Regions from separate parts of the Homo sapiens genome. Here regions 1, 2 and 4 are each linked to region 3. The links are contacts of gene promoters, found by promoter capture Hi-C in blood cells and fetal thymus (Javierre and others, 2016). All regions are on one chromosome and are shown on one strand. Each heading gives the region's core, a stretch centred on a gene start or on the middle of the fragment in contact. The rest is flanking DNA. Distances are from core to core; before and after follow the strand shown. Region 1 has its middle 180 kb from the start of CLINT1. Region 2 has its middle 94 kb from the start of CLINT1. Region 3 holds the start of EBF1 (EBF transcription factor 1). Region 4 has its middle 240 kb from the start of CLINT1.

Region 1 (2,804 bases), core at 59-2,558, 1.1 Mb after region 3:
TATCAGGGGATAGTAAGAACTAAGGGTCCAGGGACACTGGATCCTAAAAGCTTCAGGTAAGCGACCGGGTACAGTGGCTCACGCCTATAATCCCAGCACTTTGGGAGGCCAAGATGGGCGGATCACAAGGTCAGGGGATTGAGACCATCTGGTCAACATGGTGAAACCCCGTCTCTACTAAAATTACAAAAATTAGCTGGGCATGGTAGTGCACACCTGTAGTCCCAGCTACTCAGGAGGCTGAGGTAGGAGAATCACTTGAACACAGCAGGCGGAGGTTGCAGTGAGCCGAGATCGCACCACTGCACTCCAGCCTGGTGACAGAGCAAGGCAAGACTCATGGGATTAGGGAGTTAAAACAAGCATCTAGGAAATCAGTTGAATCAATGGCCCTGACAGCCAAGATAGCAAAGCAGTGCTGAGACTGCTTTTGACTTTCTTTTAAGCAGGGCAGTCCCAGGAGCAAGTGTGCTTTGTGGTTACCCAGAGTGGCCCCCTGCATACACCAGTTCCAGATGGTTTGACTGAAAACAATTTTGCCACAGAAACTGAATAATTCAGGCCAACAATAGAGGACTCGTTGAAACAACCCAGTCCCACAATAGAATGCCTTTTGAAAGTTTTTATTGTTTTTCCCCAATTTCAAAAACAATGCATTCTCATTACAGAAACATCTTAGATGACTAATAAATGTATCAAACTTATGTTCAAAACTGAGCTCCTGATCTTGCCTCCTGATCTTTATCTCACTATAGACTTCTCCATTTCTATTAACTTAGTTCTAAGCTTCTATTTGTTTAGGCCGAGAAGCTTGGATTCCTTTCTGACTACTCTATTTATCTCATAAGTCCATGTTCTGTATATGTAAGCAAGTCCTGTAGACTATAACTTCAAAATGTATCAATACTGTAACCACTAACCACTGTTCCCCACTTCCACTGCTATCACCTTGATCCAAGCCCCCATCACCTCTCACCCATAGTCTCCTGCTTCCACCATTGTCCCTGCTACAGGTTATTCCCAAAGGGGCAGTCAAAGTGATACACATAAAACATAACATAGATTATGTCACTTCTCTGCTCAGCACCCCCAGTGGCTTTCTAGCTGGCTGAGTGAAAGTCTAAGTCTTCACAATGGCCTATAAGACTACACATGACTTGGCTCTCTCGCTACCTCTCTAACTCACCTTCTCCTACTCTTCCTCATGGCTGATTCTGCACCAGTCCTCTGACCTCCTTGTCTCACTACACACACACACAAACACACACACACACACACACACACACAAAACCAGGCATGCTCCTCTAGCAAGCCTTTTGTACTTGATACTCTTTCTGCTGGCTCGCTTTTCCCCCCAGATATCCACCTGGCTCAGGCTCTCATTTCCTTTAGATCTTCACTCAAAAGTAACCTCGACAGTCAGACCTCCCTGGTGACCCTATTTAAAATTGGAACCCCTCCCCAACATGCTGTAGCCCCCTTCCCTGCTTCATTTATCTCCATAGTGCTTGTCACTGTTTGGCCTGTGATATATCTTACTTAATTCTTTTGTCTGCTTCCTACTCCTACAAGTATGTACCTTCAATCAGGGCAAATTTTTCTTTTTTCTTCATTGTTATACCCTCAACATAAAGAATATGGCTGACATTTAATAAGAGCTTATTAAAATTTTGTCAAATTGATTAAAAAATATATAAATAAGCAAAATAATTCCACCCACCCAAGGCAAACACTATTCAGACCTTGGTGTATAATTGTCCAAATAATTTTTCTGTACACTATAATTATTCTACAAATATAAGCTTATATAATACTTACATTAGAAACCTGTGTGTTTATCATAACTTGATATTTTGGATATTTCAATTGAGTCCTATTATTCTAATTTTTCACTTCAACAAACACCAAAGAATAGGAATAATGGACTAAAAATACATTTGAAATATGATAGTAAATAGTGGGGAAACAATTGAAAAGTTCAATTTTTTTTTTCCAAGATAGCATCTCACTGTCACCCAGGCTGGAGTGCAGTAAAGTAGTGTAATCATGGCTGTCAGCAACCTCAAACTCCTGGCTCAATCCTCCCAAGCAGCTGAGATCGTAAGCCCACACCACCACCACCTGGCTAATTTTTTAATTTTTTTGGAGGGACACTGTATTAGTCCATTTTCAAACCGATATGAAGATACTACCTGAGACTAGGCAATTTATAAACAAGAGGTTTAATTGACTAGGTTCTGCATGGCTGGGGAGGCCTCAGGAAACTTATAGTCATGGTGGAAGGCAAAGGAAAAGCAAGAACCTTCTTGACAAAGTGGCAGGAGAGAGAGGGAGTGAATGGGGAAGTACCACTTTTAAACCATCAGGTCTCATGAGAATTCACTCACTATCAGGAGAACAGCATGGGAGAAACCACCCCAATGATCCAATCATCTCCCACCAGGTCCCTCCCTAGACACATGGGGATTACAATTCAAGATGAGATTTGAGTGCGGACACAGAGACCCTTTGTTCTGGTGTGCTCTCATGGTGACTGGCCAAGGAGAAGCACCCCTCTGCACAGAAGTAAAATTGCTTCGCTGAAAATCCTTTGTTTGAGTGCTCAGTTTCCTTAAGATTCTGAGCTTTATTTCCAACAGAGTCAAACCGTATCATTCCACCCCAACCCCTCCCAAAAGAACCCATGTCCTTTTCACATTTCAAAACTAATCCCTCTCCCTCTCCCCGGTCTCCCTCTGATGACACCAAAGTTGTGCCCCTCCCCGGTCTCCCTCTGATGCCACTGAAGTTGTGAAAGCTGAGGC
Region 2 (2,900 bases), core at 119-2,618, 1.1 Mb after region 3:
CTGATTACAGCATTTAAAAATCCCCAAGCCAAGTGGTCCTAGTGGGATGTGCAAGGAAAAATTTCACTTCCTCTGATTGACACCAGGCCAGGGTCAAAGTGTGAATTAACTGAAGCCTTATAGTATGATTGGAAAATTTAAAACCTTGGTCCCCACATCAGCCCTACCACCATCTCCATGGGTAATCAATCCTAAACCTTATATTATTTTCCTCTGCAAAATGAGGGTTTTCACTAGATAATCTCTAGGGTTGCTTTAAGCTCTCACAATTCATATACATACATACATATATATGTATGTATGTATATGTATATATATATGATGCAGTCTCGCTCTGTCTCCCAGGCTGGAGTGCAGTGGCACGATCTCGGCTCACTGCAACCTCCACCTACCAGGTTCAAGTGATTCTCCTACCTCAACCTCCCGAGTAGCTGGGATTACAGGCGCCTACGACCACACGCAGCTGGTGATCCACCCGTCTCGGCCTCCCAAAGTGCTGGGATTACAGGCGTGAGCCACTGTGCCCGGCCCATAATTCGTATTTCTAAATTTCCCTCTGGTCCCTTTTTATTCCCCACTACTTCAAGTCCCTCTCTCACTTGCTTACTACATTCCTGGAGAAAATACTGTCTGGAGGACTTCTATAAATGATAATACCTGTAAACATTTTCTGATTTCAAATACACACACACACACACAAGTCAAGAGCATACATAAGGGTGCTGTTATCTTCAATTAGCAGATGCAGAAACTGAGACTCAAAGAGATTAAACCGCTTGTCCAAGATCGAAGAGCGAGAAGAAGGTTTTGTCTGGATTTGAACCCAGGACCATCTGACTGAAGCTCACATTCTCCGCACTACACCCCACAGTCTCCTGTGGCCCTAGACCTCATCCATGGGCTCCACAGCAAATGACTCTTTTACTCAGCTTGAAACCCCTAGGCAGTGAGCCTTTGTTCCCAACCAAAGCTTAGTTGCCCTATTTCTTTTTTTCTCAAGAGCTTACTGTTTTGCATACGTTTTCATTATAACTGACAAAGGACTTGGTATCTATTCCAATCCATTTATACAAAAAAAGGAAGAAACCAAAGCCCAAAGAAAGTGGTTCGCTCAATCTCATAGACTATTTACCAGTAAGGCCTAAATACAGCCCAGGCTCAAAACCCACTACTTTTTTTTTTTTTTTTTTTTTTTTTTTGAGATGGAGTTTCACTCTTATTGCCCAGGTTGGAGTGCAATGGTGCAATCTTGGCTCACCGCAACCTCCGCTTCCCAGGTTCAAGCAATTCTCCTGCCTCAGACTCCCAAGTAGCTGGGATTACAGGTATGTGCCACCACACCCAGCTAATTTTGTATTTTTCGTAGAGATGGGGTTTCTCCATGTTGGTCAGGCTGGTCTCGAACTCCCGACCTCAGGTGATCTGCCCGTCTCGGCCTCCCAAAGTGCTGGGATTACAGGCATAAGCCACCACACCCAGCCCAAAACCCACCACTTTTTAAGTTGTCACATTAAAGTCACCAGCCACTAAAATGTCACTGAATTATATCGGAATAATGTATTAACTATTGTGGGTACGTTTTTAAATAAACAAATATGTTTTCTTCTACATAAAAGACATACAAGTTTAGTTTGGACAATTTGGAAACAAGCAAAGTAGAACAAAAAAGAAATTCAAGAGAAGTGAACCATTAATCCTATTTCATTTACTTCCAGTCCTGTCTTTCTTTTCCTTGGCATCATTTGTTTTATTTTTTATAAAGCTTTTTGTTCTGATTATAAAAATAATACATGATTCACAATGAGGTGCCACTACATACCCATGAGAAAGCTACATTTTTTTTAAAAAGACTGACACCATCAGGGATTAGTGTGGATGTGGAGCAACTGGAATTTGCTTACCTCATTGGTGACAGTATAAAAGGGTACAACCACTTCGGAAAAGGTTTGGCAGTCTCTCACAAAACTTAACATACCCCTATGCTAGAAATTCCAGAAATGCCACTGCTAGATATTTATCCAAGAGAAATAAAAACATACATCCACAAAAAGACATGTATAAGACTATTGATAATTAACAGCTTTGTTATAAAGCCAAAAACTGGAAATAGCTCAGGTGTCCATCAATAGGAGAAAGGGAATACAAACAGTGGTACATTCTTACCACCTTCGGCAATAGAAAGGACCAAATAATTTGTACACACAACAGCATGGGCAAATCTCAGAAACATTACGTTGAGTAAAAGAAGCCTTACAGAAAAACTACACACTGAAGTTTACATGAAGTTCTATAATAGGAAAAACTAATCTATGCTGAAAACAATTAGGACATAGCTACTCTTGGCACACTGCCTATGGGTTAGCCCCACGCTGAGAGGAGAGGAGAGGAGAAGAGAAGGGAGGGGAGGGGAGGGGAGGGGAGAGGAGAGGAGGGGAGGGGAGGGAAAGGGAAGGGGAAGTGAAGAAAAGGAGCTTGGATTGCACAGGTGAATGCATTTGTCAGAACCCATGAAATGGCCCATAAAATTTGTGTGTTTCATCATAAGTAAATCTTACCTCAAAAGAAAGAAAGTAAACCAATATTGAATTTTAACAACGTGCATGATGAAGTATTTAGGGAAAACTACATGATGTCTACAACCTACTCTGAAATACATCAAAAAATAAGATGGAGAAAGAGAGGAATGGATAGACAGGTAATAAAGCAAGTGTCATAGAATGTTAATTGTATAATCTACGTAGTAGGTATATGGGTATTTGCTGTAAAATTCTTTTTTTTTTTTTTTTTGAGATGGAGTTTCGCTCTTGTTGCCCAAGCTGGGGTGCAATGGCACAATGTTGGCTCACTGCAACCTCCACCTCCCTGGTTCAAGCAATTCTGCCTTAGCCTCCCGAGTAGCT
Region 3 (3,152 bases), core at 649-3,148:
CCCCATGAGCTTCCTAAATCAAAGGACCAAGGAAGGCCAGCAGAAAGGGGACCTGGATTTCTGGCAGATAATTTCCCCGAAGGAGTCCTTAGCAGATTTGGCTGCAGTCAGGGAGTTCCTTTGAGGGCAATGAAACAGAAGTTCACCATGTGCTTATTAGAGGTTACAACCTGCTAAAAAATGATGGGGTACATTACCCAGAAACTTCTAGCTATTTCCTTTGCCAGCCACAAAGATACATGCTGAAAAGCCTGAGGAGGGAGACAATTTCGTCCTTTTTTCTTTCCCTTTTTCCTTCCATCTCTCCCATTTCCATTCGTTCCTTCTCCTTCTCTCCTTTCTCTCTCCCTCCTTCCTTCCCATTTTCTCTTCCCCTTCTTCCTTTTTTGTCCTTTCTCCCCACCTTCCTTCTCTTCTCCCCCCACCCTTTTCATATGGCAGAGACAGAGTTAGGAAGGATTTGTTCAAGCCCTCCTTTTTAACAGGAAGAATAAAGGAGGATGAGAAAAACCCTACACCAAATAACCAGCTAATCAAGGACGGTTAACATTGCTGTTGCTTTGGTAGTTACTCTAAAAACAAACGAACCAACTACTTGGGGTGGGGAATGAGGGGTTGGCATTTAATTTGAGAAAATTTAAAAACGCATCCTGACACAGCCCCAGTGAGAGCATTCATTCCACCATTCACATATCTCGAGGACTGCCCGAGAGAGGTGAGCGTGTGAGTGAGAACAGTGCCCAACCCTGGCAGCCTCTAGGCTAGCGGCCGAGAGAGAAGCGTTTCAGAGGCCGGGGTGGGAGTAGAGCCTGGTACCCCACTTCCTGGGGACCCACAGCGCCTCATTTGCCGGGGCCCAGCGTCCATTCATCCCTCCCAGCGTGGAGGCCGTGCCCCTCCGAGAGTTACCAGCCCCGACCTCGCGCACCCATATTCCATCCCACCGCCCCCGCCTCAAAGCGAAGAGGTGGGCACCTGGGACGCGCGTCCTGCTTTTTCTGCCCGGGCTCTCCCGTCTCCTCCACTTTTGTCCCCGACGTCCCAGAACGGCGGAGCAGGACGCGGCATCAGCCCTGGGAGGGCGCAGCCTGCGAGCCTCCAGCGCGCTCAGGGCGCGGCGAGGATGCTAAAGGACTGCAATGGCCAGGATGCAGATCCCCAGCTCAAATTCCTGAGGAAGACACCCGCCTCCCTTTCCCTCTGTCCCCTCTCCGTCCTCGCTCGGACCCGCTCCTCCCCAGCCCAGACGTCAGTGCTCAGCGCTCCTTCGCTCGCCACTTTGCGAGGAACTTTGGCCGGCTCCCCTGCGCCACCGGGAGCGGGATGTTAATGAGAGAGCGTGGCCTGGCGCCGCCAGCGAGCCGGCTCCCGGGCCGCGATTGGCTGCGGTGGGCGGAAAGATGACGTTATGCAAATGAAGGGGCGGGGCCTCGATGCGCGGGCCCCGCCTCCTCCCTTTGGGGTTAGTGTGCCTGTGTTTAGCTCTGGGGAAAGTCAAACTGGATTCCATAGGGAAAGCCTGCAAATCACTTCTATTTTAGCAAGGAGAAAACAGAATCTCCATCCAGCAGGGTCCACCCCTCTCTCTTTCTCCCTCTCCTCTCTATCTCTCTTTCCCTCCCCCCCTTTCCTCTCTCCCTCTCTCCCCTTCCCCCCACCCTCTCTGGTGTATCTGTCTACGGCAACCAGCGTCCTCCTCATCTACACGCAAAGGAAAGAAACATCTTTGGTTGGGAGAGAAGGAGGAAAAAAAAAGAGAGAGAGAGGAAAAAACTTGCCTGGTTGTGGAAAATGACACTTGAAGTAGCAAAGCCGGCAGCGCGAGTTGAGTCTATTGTTTCTTAAATTGCCATCAGGGTTTTTTTTTTTTTTTTTTTTTTTTTTTTTTTTTTTTCTTCCTGCTTCTTCAAGTGAAGGGTACCTCTACAAAAGGAAACTCCAGCCCCTCCTGTCCTCCACCGGCCTGTGATCATTACAAAAAAAAAAAAAAAAAAGCAAAAAAAAAAAAAAAGCACCCAAACCAAAAATCAACCAACCAAACAACCCCCAACAGCCAAGCATACATCTCTAATTTTATTATTTTGGTCTTTTCGTTGGATTTTCCCTTTCTTCTTTTTTTCGGGTTATCGCTCAGTTTTGAGCAGAGGTTTACATTTTTTAAAAATTTGCTTTCCAGCCCGCCTTGATCTTCTAAGTGCGAGTTCATCGTCTGAGAAAAAAAAAAATCTCTGGTTGGCGTTTTTGTTTCTTTTCTTTTCTTTCTTTTCTTTCCTTTTTTTTTTTTTTTAATTTTTTTCAAGGGGGAGGAGATTTTCCACAAGAAAAGGTTGTTTTCATGTTTGGGATTCAGGAAAGCATCCAACGGAGTGGAAGCAGCATGAAGGAAGAGCCGCTGGGCAGCGGCATGAACGCGGTGCGGACGTGGATGCAGGGCGCCGGGGTGCTGGACGCCAACACGGCGGCGCAGAGGTGGGTACTGCGCGGGGACCGCGGCCGAGGTGAGCCGCGAGCGGGAGAGCCGGGAGGCGGAGGCGGCAGCGGCAGCGGCAGCTGCTGCCGCGGGGCCGGGCGGCGGGGTGAGTCCGCAGCCGCTGCGCTCCGCTCTCCGCCGGGGCTCCGCGCTCTCCAGCCGCTCTGCCTTCGTCGCCTGCGGCCGGAGGACCTGGAGCTGTCTGCGAGGAGCCCACGCTTTGCCAGCACTTTCCCCTGCCTCGTCTGTGACTGTTTTCATTTTGTTTTAACCCAGAAGAGGCGTCTCAACACAGCATGTTGGAGATCTGTGTTTTATGTTTTTATGTGATTGCTCTTTCTTTTCCGGCCGGCTCTCTTTTCTTCTTTCCCTTCGCTCTTCCTTTCCCTCTTTTCTTTTTTCTTTCTTTCTTTCTCTTCCTTCCTTCCTTTTTCTTTCTTTTTTCTTTTTCTTTCTTTTTTTCTTTCCTCCTTTTCTTTTTCCTTTTTCTTTCTCTTTCCTCTTCCTGCCTTTCTTTTTTCTTTCTTCCTTCTTTCCTTTCTCCCCCCTTTATTTTCTTCTCTTCTCCTTCCTCTTCCTTTCTTCCCCTCTTCCCTCCTTCCATTTCTTTCGTTCTTCGTTCTTTCCTGTCTCTCTTCCTGCCTTCTTTTCTTTCTTCTTTCTTTCATTTCCTTCTCTCATT
Region 4 (3,089 bases), core at 151-2,650, 1.0 Mb after region 3:
AGCAAAAATCAGTTAGAAGATGTCATGTTGAAGAAAGATCCATTTATAATAGAAATGAAAAATGTAAAGTTCTTAAGAATAACTTAACAAAAATGATAAAGAGCTATATATTTTTAAATCTTTAAAATAAACCCAGGCATGATGGAAAAGCATCAAGCAATCTGACCCTTAAGCCCATGATGCTATAAAATGTTTGTGGCTCCAAGTTCCCTTTTGTCATTAATATTTTTCCTATACATTCTCTTCCTGGAAATATAATTTGGATTCATTTACAACCAGCCCTTTCCAGCCCTGGGTCATACAAGGCAATAAAATGTAATTTTAACTCTTTGCCTGCTGGAAACCAAAGGATGTGGTTCTGAAATTGCTGTAGCTCTGACCAAAAACACAGCCACCAGCTATTTACCACCACTCGGACTCATGTGGGAAAATTACAGAGAGATGCCATAAAATGCAAGTTTATGAGTATCTATAAGCACATTATTTATTAGATGAATAATGCTTACAACACATCCAAAGTTGTCATGTCTGGATTATATCAATAAAACTACCTAATTTTACTCAGCACCTTCATTGGTCCTTACAAGAACTCTATAAAGTAAGTAGTTCAACTGAGTATGATTTTTAAATACTAATATGTATGGACCATATACTCTGCCCCATGGCATACACAGGCAGTGTGCTAAATTTTTTACCTACAGTAACTCAATCATGTTTTATGACATTGCTCCATGTCATTAGGATGATGTTTATTTTATGGATAAGGAAACTGAGGCTTGAATAGGTTAAAAGTCTAAGCTCTAACACATCAGAGCTATGATGAACCCAGCTAAATCTGACCCCAGAAGCTTCACTCTTAACACCTACAAACTATGCCTCCTCTGGTGGTGGTGGTGTTATTATAACTACTATTACAGTCATCAGCATCATCCACATCATGATTATAACTATACTTGCAGATAAGGAAACGGAGGTGCAGTGATGCTAATGGATTTGCTTAATGGAACACAGCTATAAAATGGGGGAGCATAGGCTCAAACCCAGATGTATCCAATTCTAAATCCCATCTTCTTTCCACTCCCCCACAGTAATTATTCACACTGTGGGAAAGGAAGTGGTATGTAAACAATACAAATGAGTAGATAATATAAAACTCATTTTCATTCTGCTTTGGAAAACTCAGTATATATTTTCAAACCCCCAGTTTTATCTTCATTGTTATTTTTAAGCTGCTACTAAAATGAGTTTGCATTGCCTTACTGTGTCTTTACCGATACCCCCAACCTGAGAACAAAGAGAGGGAGCCCAAAACCAAATTGACATGCATTGCAAAGACAGCAGGGCATTAAAAATCTACCATAGCTAACCACACATACATAAACCAGGAATTGACTGTATGTGCTTTGATATACTTAGAGAAAAGGGGCTATATAAATTCAAATTTCTCTCCTACCTAGATATTTAATTCAACTTCACAGGGTCCTAGGATACAGGTACAGTATTGTTTTTCAGATACATTCATTCATTTACTCATTCAGCTAGCATTTACTGAGCAGGGTCCACCAATTAGTCAATCCCAAACTAACTCATTTTATCAATGGATAAGAGTAGCTGTCCCTACTTTCCCAGTGACACAGATCCTTCGAGAAAAGAAAGGAATCTTTGTTGAGGTCTTCCCTCAATGTCTCCACCTATATCCTTCCACTCCCAACCCATACACACCAAAATAAGGCAGTCTATCTCCTGGCAATAGGTATTGTTATTGTGCTTATTTTACAGATAGGAAAACTGATGGAGAAAGGATGAAGCTAATGACCTAAGTGGTAGTTCCAGGATTAGAACCCAAGCATCCTGATAATAGAGTCTATGCTTGTCTCTGCTATGCTATATTTATTGAAATGTCATATTTTCTTGAATTTGCTTATCAACATGAGAACAGAAGGGAAGCTTATGTTCTCAAGATTGAGAGAGATTTACCTAACAAAGGAATTCTTACACTGGGAAAATAAATCCTGAGAAGTCAAGGAAGTCATCTAAGGCTACCCAATGAATCAGGAGACGAATGAATCAGAACATGGATTCCCAGACTTACTATCCTGACCCATTCTCGGGGTATCCAGGGGATCTGGAGCCTCCCAAATCCTGGGACCATAGACTAGAAGATAAGAGGAACACAAGCCCAAGCCCGTCATCCATTGTCCGTTTGAGCAAGGCATCCCCTCCGTGAGTCAGGCTGATCGCAGGGACAGCATATATATCCCACACACTATCCCATTATGAGCAACAAGCATGATAAATGAATTAGTATGCAATGTGTAAGAAGGTGCTAAGTGCTAAGGAAAAGAAAACAGGAAGTAAAGGGGATAGGGAGTGCCACAGCCAGCCTAGGGGAGGGGAGAGGGTTATTGTTTTAAACCAAGGTGGACAGGTGGGCCTCATGGAGAAGGTGACATTTAGCAAAGGTTTAAAGGAAATAAAGGAGATCGCCAGGCAGATATCTGAGCAGCAGGCATTCCAGGCAGATAAAAGCAGGCTGCAAAGACCCTAAGGTGGGTGGCTACAGAGAGACTTGTTAGGAGGCTTTGACAGTAAGCCAAGCTAGAGATGATAGTGGCTAGAGTGGTAGCAATGGAGGTGGGGAGACATAATTGCATACTGGATACATTTTGAAGGCCAAGTCCACAGTATTTCCTGACAGATTGGTTGCAAATGTGAGAGAAAAAGAATTTAAGCATGTCTCCAAGATTTGGGCTTACAGACGTGGAAGGATGAGGATGCTATCAGTTGAGAAGGGAAAGGCTGTGGGTTAAGCAGGTTCGGAGTGCAGTAGAAAGGAAGATCTGGAATTCAAGTTGAGCTTGAGATATCTATGAGGTATCCCAATAAAGAAGCTGAGTAGGCTGTAGAACATATGAGTCTGAGGTTCAGGAGGGAAGTCACGTTGAAGATATATACTTAAAAATCATCAGCACATAAATGGCATACAAAGTCAGGCAACTAGCCGAACTTTCCAAGGGAGTGAATGTAGATAGAAGAAGGAAGAAGTCTAAGGACAGAGCCCCAGGGCACTCTTACCATGAGAGGTCAGG

Evidence for each region. The method cuts DNA at HindIII sites, captures the fragments that hold promoters and counts their contacts. A CHiCAGO score of 5 or more calls a contact.
Region 1: a fragment that was not itself captured here is called in contact with the fragment with the promoter of EBF1 in region 3 in 1 of 17 cell types (M1 macrophages); the score reaches 5.0 in M1 macrophages.
Region 2: a contact is called between a fragment that was not itself captured here and the fragment with the promoter of EBF1 in region 3, in 1 of 17 cell types (fetal thymus). The highest score is 6.1, in fetal thymus.
Region 4: a fragment that was not itself captured here is called in contact with the fragment with the promoter of EBF1 in region 3 in 1 of 17 cell types (M0 macrophages); the score reaches 6.2 in M0 macrophages.

Annotation. Positions count from the first base shown.
Region 1 is chr5:158,037,955-158,040,758 of GRCh38, reverse strand. No RefSeq gene overlaps it. Among named protein-coding and RNA genes, the nearest start is that of CLINT1, 180 kb to the right of the region's middle. The HindIII fragment of the contact is 992 bases long and covers 813-1,804 here.
Region 2 is chr5:157,951,481-157,954,380 of GRCh38, reverse strand. No RefSeq gene overlaps it. Among named protein-coding and RNA genes, the nearest start is that of CLINT1, 94 kb to the right of the region's middle. The HindIII fragment of the contact is 792 bases long and covers 973-1,764 here.
Region 3 is chr5:159,098,662-159,101,813 of GRCh38, reverse strand. EBF1 (EBF transcription factor 1) reads left to right here and starts at 1,898. Exons shown (of 16, transcript NM_024007.5): 1 at 1,898-2,469. The coding sequence starts at 2,336. It overlaps LINC02202 (long intergenic non-protein coding RNA 2202), which reads right to left and starts at 1,331. Exons shown (of 3, transcript NR_109890.1): 1 at 976-1,331. RefSeq lists enhancers at 363-989, 990-1,618 and a silencer at 2,436-2,725. The HindIII fragment of the contact is 12,266 bases long and covers 1-3,152 here.
Region 4 is chr5:158,093,940-158,097,028 of GRCh38, reverse strand. No RefSeq gene overlaps it. Among named protein-coding and RNA genes, the nearest start is that of CLINT1, 240 kb to the right of the region's middle. The HindIII fragment of the contact is 1,099 bases long and covers 851-1,949 here.